Linked DNA regions of Homo sapiens: region 2 is linked to region 1. The links are contacts of gene promoters, found by promoter capture Hi-C in human tissues and cell types (Jung and others, 2019). All regions are on one chromosome and are shown on one strand. Each heading gives the region's core, a stretch centred on a gene start or on the middle of the fragment in contact. The rest is flanking DNA. Distances are from core to core; before and after follow the strand shown.

What was found. Contacts are between HindIII fragments. The study calls those that stand out against the background at their distance.
Region 2: a fragment that was not itself captured here is called in contact with the fragment with the promoter of KLF11 in region 1 in 3 of the 25 tissues and cell types used here (IMR-90 fibroblasts, mesendoderm cells and thymus).

What each region holds. Positions count from the first base shown.
Region 1 is chr2:10,041,611-10,044,799 of GRCh38, reverse strand. KLF11 (KLF transcription factor 11) reads right to left here and starts at 1,250. Exons shown (of 4, transcript NM_003597.5): 1 at 1,042-1,250. The coding sequence starts at 1,083. KLF11-DT (KLF11 divergent transcript) reads left to right here and starts at 1,399. Exons shown (of 3, transcript NR_135558.1): 1 at 1,399-1,490; 2 at 1,796-2,167; 3 at 3,149-3,189. RefSeq lists silencers at 557-626, 667-716, 837-886, 1,177-1,406 and a promoter at 1,093-1,992. The HindIII fragment of the contact is 11,158 bases long and covers 1-3,189 here.
Region 2 is chr2:9,769,393-9,772,581 of GRCh38, reverse strand. The region is part of intron 2 of LOC100996549 (a long non-coding RNA gene); the gene reads left to right. Among named protein-coding and RNA genes, the nearest start is that of TAF1B, 72 kb to the left of the region's middle. RefSeq lists enhancers at 538-1,465, 1,466-2,394 and a silencer at 3,097-3,189. The HindIII fragment of the contact is 4,385 bases long and covers 1-3,189 here.

The DNA.
Region 1 (3,189 bases), core at 1-2,500:
AGAAAACTAAGCCGGGGGCGAGAGGGTGATATTACTCTGAGAAGAGTAATACCCCTCCCTCCCAGGGAGGTTACAGTGGGCCGAGATCGCGCGCCCACTGCACTCCGGCCTGGGCGATAGAGCGAGACTCCCTATCAAAAAAAAAAAAAAGGAAAGGAAACTTTAAATGTACGAAGATACACGTTTCCTCTCTATCTGCCATGCACCAAAGCATCAAAGCTTTCCGTCTGCCGAGGTTCCCCGAGATCAAACAAGACGAGGCCACCTCAAATCCCCGGCCTCTGTCCCGCAGGCTGCGCCACTAAACCCCCTGTGATGTCACAGAACCGGGCGCCGAGGCCGACTCACCACACGGGCGGGAAGGGGCTCGCCCGGCCCACAGTGCCCGCACACCACGAGGCCCGCGCTCTGCCCACGTCCACGGCTACCTCCCCGAAGCCCCCAGGTCGCGACGCTTAGGGCCCCCAACGCTCGCGTGCCGCGTTCCCGCCTCCAAGCGTTGCCCCGCCTCCAAGGCAGTGCGGCGCTCCCGCCTCCCGTCGTTGCCCCGGCCCCTAGACCTTGCCCGCCCCCAGGCCCGAGCGGCACTACCGCTAGCCGCTCTTAACCCGCCCGACGGCCGCGTGCCCCGCCCCCAAAACCGTGCCGCGTTCCCGCCAGCAGCTCTTGCCCCGCCCCCAAGGCCGCGTGCCGCGTTCCCGCCAGCCGCTCCCCCGCCCAACGGCCGTCCGGCTCACAGGACCGGGGTGACGTCATGGCTGGAAATAGCCGCGGGGCCAGCGGGGCGGGGCCGCCCAGGAAGCGCAAGACAAAGCTGCGCGGGGAACACGCCCCCTCCTCGCCCCCGCCGACCCGGGCGCGCCCGTCGCGGCCGCCGCCCCGCCCGGCTCCGGAGCCCGCCCAGGCCCCTACCGGCGCGGCCGCAGCGAAGCCCTGCACGCCCCACCTCCCGCATTTACAGGCGCGCGAGTGCCGCACCACTTCCCCCGCCTCGCCCCTCGCTCAGACGAGTAGTCCCGCCGCGGCAGCCCCACCACTCACTGCGCGCGCGTCGTCTGGGCCTGCGAAGTCCGGCGTGTGCATCGTGCAGGCCGGCCGGGAGCAACAAAGCGGCCGCGGGGCGTGAGCTCGGGCGCAGCAGCGGCCGCACGTGGGCTGCGGGCGGCGGCGGCGGCGGCAACCCGGAGCTCCTGCGGCCGGCACGCGCCTCGCCCGCCCGCGCGGCTCTGCCCCGGCGCGGCCCTCGCGGCGCGGGAGGGGCGGGGCGGCCGCGGAGGGAGCGGCTGGCGGGGCGGGGCGCGGAGGCGAACCAAAATACACCGCGCCCCTGCCGGGGCGGGGCCGGCCACCACCAGCCAATTCGTGCCCGGCCGGCCAATGAGCGCCGCGGGGGGCCGCGTGATCGGAGCCTGGCCGCGGCGTGATCGGGCAGGGCGGGACGCGGCACGTGTTTTGGTCGGAGCGAGGGGCGGGGCCTGAGGCCCTGGAAAGTAAGGGAAAGGTCGCAGCGGCGCCAGGGGCAAGCGGGGCGGAGGGGGCGGCGGGGGCGGAGGGGGCGGCGGGGGCGGAGGGGGCGGCGGGGCGGCGGGGGCGGCGGGGCGGAGGGGGCGGGGCGGCGGCTGGGGAAATCCCAGGGCCGGGGCCGGACTCGGTGCGGGGAGAGGGGACCACGCTTATAGGAACCTCCTGCAGCCCCACCGGCTGAATCCATCGGTAGCGGAGACCCACCTAGAGGCCTCAACCTGGCTTTTGTTTGGTTGTTTTTAACTTCTGTCATTCTCCCTTCGTCTCTTAGGAATGCGTCCTTGACCGGAGAGGTCGGAAAGCTGGCCGGTTCTAGGTGACATTCCTGCATCCGGTCATTTTTGCAGACAGCGGGAGTCAGAGCTTATTGGCCTGAGTGTCCCGCTGACGCCCCTCCTCTGGCGTCTCTGGGCCTCTTCCGCTCTGTTACGGGGTCAGGGGAAGCCGAAACGGGCAGTCACCCAGAAGGCGCCCGCTGAAACCCGCCCATTCTTCCCAGGCCCCGAGAAAACGCCGCCCCCTCCGGGAAGTCCTCGAGCCTGCAGGAGACATCTAGCCCGCTGTCCAGGGCACCTTTTTTTTTCTCCCTATATTTCGGTTGCTCGCGTCTCTTGGTGTGGTTTGCCCACGTCTGCAGCGCCAGGTTCGTGGAGAGCAGGAACCATGCTGTTTATTTTCGTCGCCGCAGCCTTCAGCTCAGCGAGGAGCCACCCCTCCTCCGTCTGTTCACTGCGCGCGCCTTTGCTGAGCTGTGATGCGGGTTGGCGCTCAGTGCAAGGGGCAGAGGCCGCAGTGAGGAATCCTCCTTTTTTAAAAGCTCCATCCAGGGAGCGGGAGCAGAGAGAGAATCCCGGCACCCCGGGGCTTTGCTCTGAGCGAGAGAATTCTGGTCTTAGGGGAACGGGCTGGGCCCCACCACTCACATGAGCAGGACTCTGGTCCCCACTTGTTCCTTCGGGGCCCACTCGGGTTGGGCAGAGGGGTTGACCAGGCTGAGGAGAGGGTGTTTGCTGAAATAGTAAGAGGGTTTAAGACGAAAGAACCGTGATAAACTGCTCGCATGAAGACCCCGGAGGCTCTGAGAGGGGCGCAGGGTGTTCTGTGTGTAAAAAGTTAAGTCTTAAGATACACACTGGAATATTCTCTTTTGCCTGGACTCCTGCATTCGCCTTATAACTGGTCTCCCTGCGTCCACTCCAGCTCCCAGAGCCTCTTCCCACTCAGCACCCCCAGGGGTCTTTAACCCTTTCAGTGGCTCCCACTGTACTCAGCGTAACGCTTCTGCTCCCCACTGTGGCTTGTGAGCTCCTGCAGGGACCCAGCCCCATGCCTCTCCCCACGCCCCGGAGGGACAGCCTGGGCCTCCTCTTGGGCGCCTGTCCCACCAGCCCCTCTGCCGTCTCCAGGTCCTCGCACTTGCTGTTCCCTAGAATGCTTTTCCCCCACATGCCCCCTTTACTCTCACCCGCAGTCCACCTGGAGAGGCCCCCTCTAGCGGACACACCCTCGGGGCCGACCTCCAGTCCCCTTCTGGCGGGCTTTCTTGTTTTCTTCCTCCACAACACTTTTCTTGAACTGCCCCTTTTCCATTACTTCAGTTATTTATCATCTGTCTCCCCACCAGAAGGACTCTCCCAAGGCCAGGGAGCCTGGCTGTTTAATAAG
Region 2 (3,189 bases), core at 364-2,863, 270 kb after region 1:
AGCAGGACGCTTCAGAGGCCCAGGCCCTACCTCTGCGCCCACCTGCCACTTTCAAAAGAAATCTAGAGTGAAAGGAAGAGAGTTTCTATTTTTGATGAGACACCAGTGAAATGGAGGCTTTTTAAATAATTAAAATCCAGAATACATTATTTATTCAGGTCGGATATGAAGCTGCCTTTCCTTTTAGGAACATCAGCCCCACCCGCACATTGTCACTCATTTCCTTGTACCCTGGCAAGTCATTCACCCTATCTGGACCTCAGTGCTCTCCTCTGTAAAATGGGTGGAACACCAGGCAGGGGGTTGGGCTCTAAGGGCTTCCAGGGTCTAGAGCAGCCCAAAGACCCAGCCAAAGCGGGCCTCCTCCAGGAAGCCCTCCCACCTTCCCTTTGTGCTTCTGCAGCACTCTGCCATCCCCTGTCAAAGCTCTCACCACCTCCATGGCTTCACGCTTACACACCTGTCTTCCCACCAGAGTCTGAGCTCCTTGAGTTCTGGGACCGAGTTGGATGAATTTCCACATCCCCAGGCCCAGCACAGGGTGGGGCGTAGAGTCTCAGTGATTGTTGAATGAATGAATGAATGAATGAATGAGGCTCCAGTGTTTGAGCGAATGTGGCTTCTTCACCCTGCTGGGAGGCCTGGGTTTGGGAAGCTTCCCCTAAGTGTAGCTGGCCACTCATCCCTGGGAATTCTGAGATGATTTTCCCTCTGAGGACTCAGCTGGGGAGGGAAGACATAGGTTACCATGGCAACAGATTTTTTTTTTCCTGCCGGAGCAAACATTTCTACAGAAACCTCAAGAGATGCCAGCCAGTGCGGGGCGCTGCCTGTTTCTCCCACGCCCTCCCTGGCCTCTGAGCCCAGAGCTGGCCCTTCTCACTGGGTTTCTCAAAGCTGCCCACTGTAAGGCTGTGCCTGAGACCTAGGTCAGCCTTGGCCTCACATCCCCCGCCCCGTGCAGGCCCTCCCACCGGTCTGTTCACAGCCCAGGCTGTCAGCAGTGGGGGAGCCAGGCCCAGAGAGGGGAGCCATAGGGTGCCCTCTCCCAGCCCAGACAGGCTTCCTCTGCCATCCACCAGTGCCCTCCACCTCAAACCCAGGTGACAGCGCCTTCTTCCCCCTCCCCCATTCACAGGGCCCCGGGAGGCTACCAGGGGGCCACCTAGAGGAGCTGGGAGGGGTGGGGGTCCTCTGGAGAGGGGCAAGGTCTCTGAGCTCAGATCCTGCCAGCTCAGACCCATGGACCTCGGGTCCTGCTGGATCCCGTCTGGGACCCTGGGGTGGGAGGCCCCAGGAACAAAACTCAGAGAGGCCTTGTGACTTTCCCCAGGACACACAGCGAGTGAGGGAGGAGGCAGGAGTTGAGCCCCGGTTTCTCTGGAGACAAGGCCCAGCCTCTGCCTCCTGTCCTGCCAGGCTAGACTCCACCTTCCACTGCCTGGAAACAGGGGACAGATGGCCCCTTCTGGAAGCACTGGGGGTGCAGAGTGCCTCGCGAGCACTGAAGGTGTTGAGGGTCTGGCTCATGCCCTGCACTGCCCGTGTGTGGACTGCAGCGTGGAAACAGTGCTCAGAGAGGCTCCGTGGCCTTGCCCCAGCTCGCAAGTGGTGGCGTAGGACGCCGATGTCAGTGCTGTCGGGCTCTGTGACACTGTGCTATCTGTCCACGCCCCTGGACCGTCTTATTGAAGACAGGCAAGGAGGAGAGAACAGGGAAGGCGGAGGGGTGAGTGGCTGGTGGGACCACAGCCCAGGCCAGGGCCGGGGCAGGGAGCAGGGGAGGGCCTTTGACACCAGGCAGCTCCCTCCCAGAGGCCATAGGCACATGGAAGGGTGAGGCCGGGAGAAGCAGTTGAGCTCAGTGGCCCAAAGCAGGGACTCTGGGACCTGCCAGACAAGAGTCAAATCCCAGCTCCACCTCTTCCCAGGGTTCGTTTGCACTTGGGACAGCTGTTTCTTTCTGATCACAGCTTTCTCACTTGTAAAATGGGGAGAGCATTCAGTGGCTCCACCTGGCGGTGTATGAGGATGAATGAGACGGATGCATTTGAGGGCTGCTCTGGGGGAGGCCGCTGCTCTTTCGTGATTTGAATCCCATGCAGTCCCTGGGCTCCTCTGCCGCTCTTGCCTCTCTGTATCCCGGTACTTGGCCCTTAGCAGGCACTCCCAGGAGCTGCTGGAACAGGCTGAGTCCTGGCGCTTATCCGAGCTGTCTTGTTTGCACGTGCTCGTCTCCCACCCACTCACTGGTGAGCTCCGCAAGAGTGTACTTCTCTCCGTCCCTGGAGCGCCACGGCGTGCTGGTGCATAGTAAGCATCTGTCCATGTCTGTCCAGTTGAATTTCTTGAGAGTCATTTGACCTTCTCAGCAGCTCTGGAGGTAGGTCGATCAGGGTTCCTCATCCCATTTCACAGATGTGAAGACCCAGGTTGAGATTCACTGGGCAGGTTGCTCATGGTCCCAGAGTTGGTCGACAGGGACAGGCATCCTGATTTACTGTTTGACTCCCAGTCCTCTGTGATTCCCATTCCACTAGGCTGCAAAGGAGGGACCAGTGGAAAAGAAAGAGAGGTCAGGTGATGCCAGGAGGTGGGGAGAATCAGCTAGACCCTCCTCAGCCGTTTTCCTAAAACCAGCCACGATCCTTAGCTCCCCGCCTCTGCTTGCCCTCCCTGATAGCTTTGCCTTGGCTGTGAGCTCAGCACAGTTGCTGGTGGGGGACAGGAGTGGGAGTGAGTGGCACTGATGGGGGAGGCAGAGGCCCCATAGTCTGTGCTCCCAGCCAAGACCACAAATTCATGACCATTCCAGAGCTCCTCAGCTTCACCCCCACCTCAAGAGCCCCCCCGCTCCCATCCTGGAGCCTCCAGCACTGCCCAGTCCCTCCTGAGATCTGTGGATCTGCGGGCTCAGCAGCCGCCCACACGGAGCTCGCCTGCAGTGCTGCCTCTCTGGCTGTCATCTCCATGGCAACGCCCACCACCCCCGCTCAGGGCCACTGTGCTCTGCGCACCTGAGCCTGACCTTCCTTTCCAGCTGCCCATTTGAGTGCGGGGGGGACACCCACGCACCTGCTCAGGCCAAGACTCAGAGCCCACTCACATGCCTGCCCCCACCCACAGGTCAGAGTGGCAGCATGTGGGCATACACAGGTGTGTGTGGGGGGGGGCATGGGTGTTAAACAC